Regions from separate parts of the Homo sapiens genome. Here region 2 is linked to region 1. The links are contacts of gene promoters, found by promoter capture Hi-C in human tissues and cell types (Jung and others, 2019). All regions are on one chromosome and are shown on one strand. The core of a region is centred on a gene start or on the middle of the fragment in contact, and the rest is flanking DNA. Distances in the headings are between cores, read along the strand shown.

Evidence for each region. The method cuts DNA at HindIII sites, captures the fragments that hold promoters and counts their contacts. A contact is called where the count stands out against the background at its distance.
Region 2: a contact is called between a fragment that was not itself captured here and the fragment with the promoter of CALML5 in region 1, in 1 of the 25 tissues and cell types used here (liver).

Annotation. Positions count from the first base shown.
Region 1 is chr10:5,494,137-5,500,821 of GRCh38, forward strand. It overlaps CALML5 (calmodulin like 5), which reads right to left and starts at 5,434. Exons shown (of 1, transcript NM_017422.5): 1 at 4,561-5,434. The coding sequence starts at 5,302. The coding sequence ends at 4,862. The HindIII fragment of the contact is 7,245 bases long and covers 203-6,685 here.
Region 2 is chr10:4,803,318-4,809,838 of GRCh38, forward strand. No RefSeq gene overlaps it. Among named protein-coding and RNA genes, the nearest start is that of AKR1E2, 20 kb to the right of the region's middle. The HindIII fragment of the contact is 6,184 bases long and covers 1-5,659 here.

The sequences.
Region 1 (6,685 bases), core at 4,184-6,683:
CAATCCTTCTTTAGTCTCCTGGGCCCTCCTTCAATACCAGGCTGATCCTTCTTCAGTCTGGCATCCTGGGCAATTCCTGGGACTTTTCTGCAGGGAAGGTTGCCCTTTCCTCTACAACCCTCCTCCTTGCCCCATTAAAAGATCCCCCAATAAAAGTCAATCAGATGGCTCGCCCTGCCTGTAATCCCAGCACTTTGGGAGGCAGGTCACCTGAGGTCAGGAGTTCAAGACCAGCCTGTCCAACACGGAGAAAGCCCGTCTTTACTAAAATGCAAAAATAAGCCAGCATGGTGCACGCCTGTAATCCCAGCTACTTGGGAGGCTGAGGCAGGAGAATCGCTTGAACCCAGGAGGCTGAGGTTGAAGTGAGCTGAGATCGCACAGCTGTATTCCAGCCTTGGGTGACAGAGCCAGACTCCGTCTCAAAAAAAAAAAAATAGTCAGACCAAGGCTTTTGGGGCCCTGACTCCCATTTCCCTCGAAGTGTGTGAGTTTCTGGACAGGTTTTTAGCCACCGGGCACCATTCCCTCATCCTCATCTGGGTCGATCAGCTCAGCCCTGGTGCCCTCCACTGTCCCGGTTCTAACATTGCAAGCCCAGCATTCCAAGACCCCTTACACCCCAGCCAGTCAGGATGGTGCCCACCCCATTGCCTGAGCTCTTAGCCCACGGGGGAGCTCCCCTATTGCCTGCAGAAAAAGGAACAGAAGTGTGGTCCACACCACAGGTCTGCAGGCCTGGTCTCCTGGCTACTCCCCCAGCAGCAAATCAGCCTGAGCTGCTTTCTCTCACCTACTCCCTTACACGTGGAGCTGATTCCGTTTCTAAGTGAGTGGATAGAGAGGGGGATGGAAGAGCTAGCGGATGCCTCCATAGCCTGCAGAGACGGCAACAGGACCGTGTTTCTGAGGGTGGGCCAGGGCCTTCCTTCCTGGGACCCAGGAACTTCCATTTCAGTGCATTTTCTTCTCAAAGGTTGGACCTTGGTCCACGGTTGCAAGGAGAGCCCAGATCTAACCATCATCACAAATCTGGATGTATATGCTGACCCTAGAGTTGGTAACGCTACTGTAGAAAATGTCTTCTTTGGCCAGGTGTGGTGGCTCATGCCTGTAATTCTGGCACTTTGGGAGGCCGAGGCGAGTGGATCACCTGAGGTCAGGAGTTCGAGACCAGCCTATCCAACATGGCGAAACCCTGTCTCTACTAAAAAATACAAGAAAAATTGCTGGGCATGGTGGCGCACGCCTATAATCCCAGCTACTCGGGAGGCTGAGGCAGGAGAATCACTTGAACCTGGGAGACAGAGGTTGCAGTGAGCTGAGATCACACCACGGCACTCCAGCCTGGGTGACAGAGCGAGATTCCATCTCGAAAAAAAAAGAAAAAAAAATGCCTTGTTTATTTTTTTCTTTTTGGTTTTGGTTTTTCTTCAGCCCTTCCAGATTCTGTCCCAACCCCCAACTATAGAAATGGAGACAGTCAGGTGCCATGCTAGCTCCATGGAAAACTCAAGCCCTTTCCTCCTGAGTCAGTCAACAGACTGTGGAGTCAGGGCCAGTGGGGCAGGGCCTTCCCACAGGGGAAAATCCAGCAAAGCTTCATGCAGGAGGGTCGAGTTTCCCCGTGTGCTCCTCTGTGATTTCTAACCTTCCATGATGCGCCCATATTATTTTTAGTATGAAACATTTCAGACACATAAAAATATAGAGACTAACATAGAGGACACCCACATAACCATCAACATCATCAGCTAAAGAAATGAAACCTTCAGAACCAGCTGAGGCCCCTCTGATGCCTTCCCCAAACCCCTCCCGCCTGCTCCAGAGCAAGCGTCAGTCCTGAATTAGAAGTTTATTTTCCCCATGTATGAGCAGCATGTGTCTTCAAAATCAGGTATTTTTTAAAAGAAAAGAAAATCGATTTTGCCCTCTACAGATTTAAGCTGCTGTTCTCAGACTTTGGGACCCTCCCGGACCAGGAGCATTTCCAAAGAAATTTGTGTAATGGTGAGACTCTCCATTGTGCAGAGTAAGAACACGAAGGAAAAGAAACACCAAAAAAAAAAAAAAACTCCTGTGATTCCAGTAGCTTCCTAAGAGAAAGGAATTCAGTGGTGAAAATGCACCATATCCTCAGAATTTAAAAAGTGAACGCAAAGCCTTTATTTTTCTTTTGTTATTTTATTTTATTTTCCTACACAGACCCTGGAAAACCTCTTCTTGACCAGCTCAGCACTGAGGACTCATCACTTCAGAAATCAGACCTCTGTGATCCGCGTGCCTAAGAGGATGGGGCTTTCCTGGAGGACCTCCGGGCAGAGCCAGGATGGGCATAGACTTTGCCGCAGGCCTCCTGCTCAGTCAGGTGAGCAGGCAGGTCTCAGGCTGCCTCTGCTCTGTTACCCTCTCACCTCCTTATCTTCTCTCTTCCACCCGCTCTGCAGCCCTTCCTGTTCAGAGCCCTGAGGGAGGAGGCTGGGGTGTCCACCTCTCCTCTCCCTAGCCCCAGGTGCTCCCTGCCCACAGCCCAGGCAGAGGAGGGAAGGTCTGACCCCAGCCCTGAGGCTGGAAGGGCCTGGAGGGCACTGGCCAGGCTCTGAGCACCGGGCAAGAAGGAACAGGTCGCAATGAGTGACCGCAAGAGATCATGGTGACTCCTGAAAACGCCCAGGCCCCGCCTCAGTGCCCCGGGCTACCCCTGGCCCCCCAGGCTTTGTGCTGAAGCCGAGATAAAGTGGACAGGCGCACCTCACTCCTCCACAGGTGTGCCCCACCCCCCCACCCGCAGGTCTGCCCGAGAGCACGGCAGGTGGGAAAGAGACGAATCCTGACTCCAAGGCCAGGGCCGCCACCTCCCCAAAGCCCGATTTCACCCAATGCTACCATAAGTTGGCCTGGGCTGCTCCTGTACCCACCTGGGGCTTCAGTTTCCACATCTGCCAAGCAAGGTGCCTGGGTCCGACCATCTGAGACCCAGGACAAAGGGAGCCCTGGGAACGCCAGGCTGTGATGAGCGAGCCTGGGTCTCGTTTCTAAACCTCACGGCACCAACACAACCCAAGTCCATACAGGGCTGTGCCCTGTCAGGGTGGAGGGCCCTGCCTGCTCAGCCCCGTCCTTCTCCCCCTTGCTCTGCCCTTTCCCCACCTCCCCCAACCCTAACCACACAGACGCACACACACACACACACAGAGACACACACAGACACAGACGCACAGATGCACACACAGACACACACAGACTCACGGACACATAGACACAAAGACACACACACACAGACACAGAGACACATACATGCACACACAGACACACACAGACTCACGGATACAGACAGACACACACACATAGACAGTGACACACACACAGACACACACAAAGACACACAGACACACAGACACATACAGACACACATGGACACAGACATTCACGCAGACCCACAGATAGACACAGACAGACACACAGATACACAGACACAGACACAGACAGACACACACACACATAGACACACAGACACACGGATAGATAGACACACAGACAAAGACATACCTAGACACACACACACAGACACAGATATACAGACACACAGATACACACAGATACATACACAGGCACATACACGAACACACAGACATACCTAGACACACAGATACACACACAGAGCCACACACAGACACACATATACACATACACAGACACAGACACATATGCACAGACATAAACACATATACAGACACAGACACACACAACACACAGACACACAGACACACAGATAGGCACACAGACACACACAAACACATACACAGACACACACAGACACACACAGATAAACACACACAGACACATAGACACAGAGACACACACACACAGATAGGCACACAGACACACACAAACACATACACAGACACACACACAGACACAGACACACACAGATAAACACACACAGACACATAGACACAGAGACACACACACACAGATACACACACAAAGCCACACACAGACACAGACACACAGATAAGACACACACACAAATGGACACACACAGACACATAGACACAGAGACACACTCAGACACACACACAGATACACACATACACATGCAGATGCACACAAGGACACACAGACACACAAACATACAGAGACTTACACACAGATGCACACATACAGAGACACGCATACAGACACACAGACACACACACAGATGCACACACAGACGTACACGTATATTATTTGCAGCCGAAGAGAGGCAGGCTGCGTGCAGAGGCTGGCAGCTGGGCTCCGTCTGTCCATGCGAGGCGCCCGCTCCTGTTTGTGCGGGACACGTGCCCAGGTCCTCACCAGCAGCTCAGGCAGAACCTGGAGCCACAGACACCGCCCAGCACCATCCTCACACATCCTCTGCCCACCTGCCCTCTGCTCCGCGTCAGGGGAGGCAGGAGCTGCCCCTGGGGCCTGCTCCAGGCAGTTCTGCCACCGCAGGTGAGAGGGGTGGGCTGGAAGGAACCCTGGAAGCAGGTGGGGGCCCTCGGAGGCAGCCGCCCCACAAACACCAAGCACACATGGAACTCGGCAGTCCTTTATTTAGATCAATGCGGGGCTGAGGGGCCCTCATTCCACTGCAGGGCAAAGGGGGACCAGGCCCAAGGAGGCCTCCTTCTGCCCAAGGTCTGGAGGCAGAGAGGGGCTCGCAGGCGGCCCGAGGGCGCCGCATCCAGGCCCCGGAGCGCAAAGCCTTCCTCCCAGGGGGAGGCAGTTTCCCATCCACCGACCAGGTTTCCCCGGAGAGTCCCAGCACAAAAGCAGCAGCGGGCGGTGGCCCTGAAGGCTCAGAGCGCAGCCAGGGGGACACAGGCGGGGAGCCTCACTCCTGGGCGAGCATCCTCGCGAACTCCTCGTAGTTCACCCGCCCGTCCTGGTCCACGTCGGCCTCGCGGATCATGGCGTCCAGCTCCTCCTGCGGCAGCGGCTGCCCCAGCCCCGCCATGGCCCGCCTGAGCTCGTCCACGGTGATGTGGCCGTCGCCATCCTGGTCGAAGGCGCGGAAGGCGACCTGCAGGTCCTCCAGGCCGGCCCTGGCCTTCTTCGCCGCCGTCAGGAACTCCTGGAAGCTGATTTCGCCGTCGCCGTCGCTGTCAACCTCGGAGATGAGTTTCCTTAGCTGGGCCTCCGAGAGGTTCTTGCCCGTGGCCTTCAGCGCCGCGCCCAGCTCCTGGGCATTGATGGTGCCGTTTCCATCCGTGTCAACCGCGGAGAAAGCCTTTTTGTACTGGGCCTCCTCCTCAGGAGTCAGCTCACCGGCCATGCCTGCGTCTCCTGCACCTCGCGGAGCCTCCGAGCTGCTGCCCACCGGCCCTCAACCTGCTGCTCTCAGAGCTCGTGGTCCAGAGTGCAGGCAGCCGCAGGGATCCGGGCAGCGTCTGTCCCAGACAGTTCTGCCTTGGCATGGGAACCCCCTCCTTTTCTGCAATCGGAACAAAGGGAGGAGGGAGGCTCCCCACCCTCCAAATGCCCTGGGGTGAGAGCCTCCTCCCAGGGAGGGCCAGATCAGCTGCAGACAGGAAATGCAGGAATGGGAGTTGGGAGAGCTGTCAGGTGCCAGGTGGGAACTGCCATGGGGTCGGGGTATCGGATGGCTAGCCTGCCAACCCCGCCTGGCCTTGATAGCAACCACCTCCCTCCAGGAACATTCTGCCCAAGGGATAGTTTCCCCTGCAGCTGATTCTCGGAGATCCTGACCAAGCCAAGGGGTTCAAGACAGCTTCTGCAACTTCACAAAGACTGAGACTGGAGGGGGAGGTGGCTTGAAGAGGGCTCCCTCAAGGGCACAGCAGGCCCCAGTGTTTGGTGTTTCCGTACCCCTCTCTCCAGTGCTACTGCCTAGCTCTTGCCCTGAGGCTGGGGCTGGTGGAAGGGAAGTGGGTGGTAGTGTTGATTCTGCCAGGGCACAACTGTGGGTATCATGAGATTCCCAGGCCAGGGTCTAGAGACAGAGGATGGGGCTCACTGCCTATAACTTCAAGGAAGCAAGGGACCAGGGCTGCCTTCAGAGCCATAGCTGGTGCTGAGATGGTGTTTATCAAGTGAACATGTGACGTGCAGTTTCAGAGGAGAGGGAAAGACTTTTTGTCTCCCCAGAATACTCCCTTCTAGCTCAGGGATTCCTACAATTCAATTCCATCGCCAAGTCCAAGGTTCCCTGTGCAGACACCCTGGGAGCTCAGTGGCAGGCGTTCCATTCACAGGGCGTCAAACAGTTACAGCTGGAGTTTTGCTGCAGCGAGACACGGGGGACCTCAGTGCCCAGCATACCCCAAAGGTGCAGGCAGAGGTGCAGGAGGATGCAGAACAGGTGGCTGCCATCAAACTTGGCCCTCCTTGTGGTTTTACTAAGCATCAGCCCTAAGCACAGAGACCCATCTGGGAGCCTACTGGGGTCCTCAATCTGATCTGTTCTCTGGAAGGAAACCCCCAGGGCCACTTGCCTTGACCAACTTTTAGAGCAACAGCTAAGCTTTCGGGGGACCATCCCCAAGTCCTTCCACTGATGTGATCTACAGTTGTGAGGGGACATTTGCCTTGGAGTCCCCAAAATGCCTTTCCCAAGCAAGTCCCCTCTGATCTCCATAGATTCCCATTCTTCTCCCCAGCCCCTGCCCGTACACAGGGAACAAACTCCTTTATTCCC
Region 2 (6,521 bases), core at 1,318-3,817, 690 kb before region 1:
CCTAACCCTGCAGAAAAGTAGCCACAGCTCAAGGAGGTCTCTCATGTAGATCTATAGAGTAGCCCGTGCAAAATAGCATCTTTCATCACAGAGTGACTGACTTTTAACAAAGCAATAAAGCTAAGCCTCTTTGGCCCATCTACCAGAATGAGGACACTGCGTTGTTAAGAAATCACTCAATTAAAATAATATTTGTCGAAATTGTACTTGACCTGTAATCAAGAGCGACATTTGACACCTTAGTGCAGCTTCTCAAATGTTACTTATTATGACTTGGAAGGGTAACAATAAACAAAAACAACACAACAAATAAATACAACAAGAGGCAAATCACACTTCCCTTTGGTTTCAGAATCTACAATGACTGCTTGAACATTTGCCTAGTTTAGGAATATGTCTTTGTCTCAGGATTTTAGGGGTGCAGAAAGGAATGAGAGTATATGGAGCCCACCTTTTCTGAACTAGCTTTCCCAGTAGCCTGGAAACAGAAGGATTTTCTTGCTTGGTAGAGAGTATTGAACCCTGTCCTTCTGTGTGTCCAGGCCAATGTCTGTCGAGAGCTTGACTCTCTGTGCTGGAACTAACCTTGTCCATCTTCCCATAGTTCAGTATTGTCTTCCTCAAAATAAAGGAAATTATCTCCAACTTCTTGAAACATGCAGAATTTTGAAATGGTTTTCTTTATAAAAACGATAATATCAGCATATTTTCTAAACTGCTTGTTAGAGGTATAGAGTTGTGCAGCTTAGATTTGGCTGTTGTGTCAGACCTCTGTGTTCCAGTCCTCCTGTGGAGTGGACCTGTGACATCAGAACACACAGAGGTGGGGACTGGAATATCTCAGAGTTTCCCCAGGGGCTCCAAAGGGCTGGAAGTGTGGGTCCCACCTCCTTCCATGAGGGGCAGAAGAAATGTGTTGAAAACCAGCGATGGACAGGTGATGCATCAGGCTCTCAAGTCTCATTTCTAGATTCCATCATCCACATCAATTTTTCATCTATTACTTTTACTCATTGTAGGCTTTTAATGAGATGTAGAGAAAAATACAAGCTGAAAAGAATCAACAACATTTTACTTCAAAAGATTAAAGACATAATTACCAGTGGTTGGTAGTACGTCTATGAGGAGCAGCGAAGGCATCGCTCATCTCGGGCTTTTGAGACGCGTGCCATTATCAAGCCTAACCGTGCAAACCAGAGATGCAGAGCTGACTTAAAAAGCTGCTGTTTTGTCCCAAGAAAATCCCTTAATACAGTATCTGTTTTTCATAGTAGTTTGGCTAAGCTTCTGACATTACCATGACTTGCTTGCCCATGTTTCTAAACCATACTGACTCAAGGAAAAGGAGTCTTTGGATAGAGATAACATGCAATTGAAAATCTGATGATATTTTGCATAGTCAGAAAGACTTTTCCTGCTTAGAAAATGTTTTCTGTATAACACAGATGTGTTTTTCAATGCCTTGGAATTTCCTCTTTAGAAAATATGTTGAGTCAACCGAATTTTTAAAGAAAATAATTATATCCTGAATTTAGCTCTGCTGAAAGAGCATGCAAAAGTTGCAATCATGTCCTTTGTAAATGTGTTTTAAAGTTTTCCCAGAGTTTATCACGTGAGGATGAAATGAAGGAGCTGGGGTCTCAGGGTTAATGTATACTTTGATTTGCAGAAGAATAAGAAAGTGTATACAGGTAAAAATAAAATACATATGTGCCAACATGTACATTATCACTAATCCTCAGAATTTAAAAACCTCTACTTTTTAATATTCAAAATCCTTATTGGTCCTTATTTGGAATATGTTTATCATTAAAAGATTCCTAGTAAAATAAAGATTGGAAGTGGGTAAATGTGTGAATATGGTAGAAAGGTCTCTTCATGTTTCCAGTTTCCAGGGAGGATTACAAACAAAGCCACTTTAAATGTTTTTTTCCAAAGTGACTATACCATTGGCATTTCTACCAGCAATAGAGGAGAGTTCTGTTTGGTCAGCATCTTTGCTGACACTTATGTAGCCAGTGCTTTTTTATTTTGATTATTCTAATAGAGGTGTAGTAGTATCTTATTGTGGTTTAATTTGAATTCCTGTAATAATTAAGAATATTCAGCATCTTTTCACGTTTATTTTCTATTCATATATCTTGGTGAAATGTCTTATCAAATATTTTGCCCAATTTTTATTGCTCTCTTTCTTCACTATTGAATTTTCAAAGTTTATTATATATTTTGAATGTTACTTATTGATTAAATATATGTTTTGCTAGTATTTTCTCATAGTGTTTGGCTTGTCTTTACATTTTCTTAACAGGGTCTTTCAAAAGGCAGGATTTCTTAATTTTGATTAATTATATTTGACCTTTTCTTTCAAGGACAGTGTTTTTATTCTTATATCTAAGAACTCTTTGCTGAACTTACGGTCATCAAGTTTACTTCTAGAAATTTTATATGTCAAAACCACAATGATATACCATCTCACGCCAGTCAGAATGGCGATTATTAAAAAGTCAAGAAACAATAGATGCCGGCAAGGCTGTGGAGGAATAGGAAGGCTTTTAAACTGTTGGTGGGAATGTAAATTAGTTTAACAATTTTGGAAAACAGTGTGGTGATTCCTCAAGGATCTAGAACCAGAATTATCATTTGACCCACCAATCCCATTCCTGGGTATATACCCAAAGGAATATAAATCATTCTACTATAAAGACACACGCACATGTATATTTACTGCAGCACTATTCACAATAGCAAAGACTTGGAACCAACCCGAATGCCCATCAGTGATAGACTGGATAAAGAAAATGTGGCACATATACACCATGGAATACTATTCAGCCACAAAAAGGAATGAGATCATGTCCTTTGTAGGGACATGGATAAACCTGGAAGCCATCATTCTCAGCAAACTAACACAGGAACAGAAAACCAAACACTGCATGTTCTCACTCATAAGTACGAGTCGAACAATGAGAACACATGGACACAGGGAGGGGAACAACACACACCAGGGCCTGTTGGGGGACGGGGAGCAAGGGGAGGAAACATACAGGACAAGTCAATAGGTACAGCAAACCACCATGGCACACGTGTACCTATGTAACAAACCTGCATGTTCTGCACATGTATCCTGGAACTTAAAGCAATTTTAAAAACAAACTTTATATGTTTTAATATTTAAGTCTATAATCTATTTTGAGTTAATTTTTCTATACAGTGCAAGATATGGGTCAAAGTGCAATTTTTATGCATACGAATATCCCAGCATCGATTACTACAAAGACTTTCCTTTCTCAATTGAATTGCCTTTGCAAAGCTTTGTAGAAAATCAATTGACAATATTTAGCAAGTCTATTTCTGGACTCTTTTCAGTTTCATTCATTCAGGTGTCTATCCTTCTGCTAATGCCACACTGACTTGACTACTGCAGCTTTACAGTGAGCCTTGAGCCAGGTAGCGTGAGCCCTCCAATTATGTTCTCCCTTTTTCAGTGTGGTTTGGGTTATTCTTTTGAATTTTTACTAAATTTTAGAAGCACTGTGTCAACTCTTATTTTAAAAATCACGTGTCATGTTGATTCAAATTGCATTAATTCTATAAATTAATTTGGGGAGAAATGACAATATCACTTGAGTCTTCCAGATCATGACTAGAGAACATCTTCATGTCTTTTTAGGTGGTCTTTAATCAATGTTTCTTTCATACTTTTTTTTAAATTTTTTGACATACAGGTCATTCACAGAGTTTGTTACATTTATACATCATAATTATTTTAGGTTTTTGGTGCTATTAAAATGGCAGTCTTGAAATTTCAATTTCAAATTGTTCATTGCTAGCACATTAACATGCAACTGATATTTATTTATTTATTTATTTATTTATTTATTAGAGATGGGGGGGTCTCACTCCATCACCTAGGCTGGAGTGCAGTGGCACAATCATAGCTCACTGCAGCCTCAAACATGGAGGCTCAAGCAATCCTCCCACCTCATAGCTGGGATCACAGGCACAAACTAACATGCCCAGCTAATTTTCTTTTTTCGTAGACACAGGGTCTTGCTATGTTGGGCAGGTTCATCTGAAACTCCTGGCTTCAAGGGATCCTCCTCCCTCCACCTCCCAAAGTGCTGGGATTACACATATTAGCCACCGCACCCGGCCTGATTTTTTTTTTCTTTTTTTTTTTTTTGAGACGGAGTCTCACTCCATCACCAGGCCGGAGTGCAGTGGCGCGATCTCGGCTCACTGCAACCTCCGCTTCCCAGGTTCAAGCAATTCTCCTGCCTCAGCCTCCTGAGTAGCTGAGATTACAGGCGCGTGCCACCATGCCCAGCTAATTTTTCTATTTTTAGTAGAGACGGGGTTTCACCATCTTGGTCAGGCTGGTCTCAATCTAGTGACCTCGTGATCCACCCACCTCGGCCTCCCAAAGTGCTGGGATTACAGGCATGAGCCACCATGCCCGGGCCCCGGCCTGGTTTTTAAACATTGTTTTGCTAATATCATGTTTCAGTTCTAGTAGCCTCCTATGGATTCATTTGTATTTTCTTACACAATTACACTATCTGTAAATAGAAACAGTTTTTTTTTGTTTTGTTTTGTTTTTTTTTTTTTTACAATCTATGTGCTTTCATTTCTTTTTTCTTGTTCCTTATTGAGCTACCTACAACGACCAATAAAAATAGTAACAGGGGACATCCTTTTCTTGTTCCTGATTTTAGAAAGAAAGCATTCAATCTTTTACTAATAAATGACTTCATTTGTAGGTATTTTGTGGGTTTTTTTTTTTAGTTGAGGACTTTTTATTGTATTGAATGAATAAACATTGAATTATTTCAGGGTTTTATTTGCATCTCAAAAGATGATCATATGCTTTTCCTTCTTTAGTCTGTTAATATGGTTTATTAGCATTGATTAATTTTTGAATATTAAACCACCCTTTCATTTTCAGAATAAACCACACATGGTGATGACGTGATGCCATTTTTACATGCTGCTGGTTTCGCTTTGCAAACATTTTTAGAATAATTCACATCCTTTCTCATCCAGTGCCATTGTCTTCTGCCTGAAATATTTGCAATGCCACATTAGTCATTTCCTCCAATCTTATCCCCACTTGAATCCACTTGAGTCCCGGCACCATCCATCCAAAGTAGAATATCAATCATCCCTCTTTCTTAGCTTTCTAAAGACCCCTTTCATCTCTAAGTGTATAAATTCCTCAGCATATTAAAAATGGATCTCTAGCAAAAGCCTGCAGCTTCATCTCTTCTTTTTCCTGAAATATTGTGGTCTACAAAAGCTACATTTCTTGTCTTTCTGTGACTCTACTGTATTGCTCACACTATTTCTTTTCCTGGATTTTTTTTATACCATATTTATTATGAAGACATATTTTCATCATTTTTTATGTCTCCACTCAGGCACCCTCTCATTCTCCAAGAAAAGGCTATTTTCCTCTTTTGTGTATACCATAATGGGCAGTTCAGATACCTATTATATATGGGTATATATTCACATGCAAATATGTGAAAGTGAAGTTACCTATCTAAAGGTTGCCTTCCTTATAAGTCTAAGCTCCTGGAGAGCAATTCAGGTGGTATTACATTTATTTCTTTATTTATTTTTATTATTATTATTTTTTGAGATGAAGTCTCATGCTGTTGCCCAGGTTGGAGTGCAGTGGCATGATCTTGGCTCACTGCAACCTCCACCTCCCAGGTTCAAGCGATTTTACTGCCTCAGCCTCCCGAGTAGATAGGATTACAGGCATGCACCACCATGCCTGGCTAATTTTTGTATTTTTAGTAGAGACGGGGTTTCGCTATGTTGGCCAGGCTAGTCTTGAACTCCTAACCTCAGGTGATCCACCTGCTTCTGCCTCCCAACATGGTATTATATTTATATCCCTTGCTTCTAGCCCAGTGCCTGGCTCCATAATAAGTACCCGATAATGTTTGTTGAACTATTCTGGGTTAAATAGCACTGACATGGGTGGATTCTTGAGGAAAGATGTCACCATGATTTGTGTCTCATTAGCCAGCGTCCCTACAACTTTGTGGAGCACTGGCTGGAGCGAAGAGTGACTAGAAGTGAGATAATCCTCTTCTGCAGTTCTGCGTTCACTGTCTGTAATGCCCTTTGGACTCACAGACTACATCAAACTTACAATGAATGCAGAGAGTTCTTTACTACAAATATATCTATCTAAGCACAGACACAGCAAGTTTTCAATTCCAAAAGGCTCATAGAACTGTTGGTTCCATCCCTTTCCCAATGTGTAAACAGGTTTTCCATTGTGAGTTACACAGAGGAATTATAGCAGTGTCCGGTAAGACCGGGTGATCCAGGAATGGAAGACGGGATGAACAGACAGATGAAGGAACCTGAGAAACGGAGGCTTGGGATAGACCCAGGGTATCTTCTTTCCACCTTTGTTGGAGATCCTTGGTTAGGAGACCGTAGGACAAAAACTGTCGGGCTGTTCTCTGTCGTCAGCGCTGGGGCTTGAGAGCAACATCATGGGA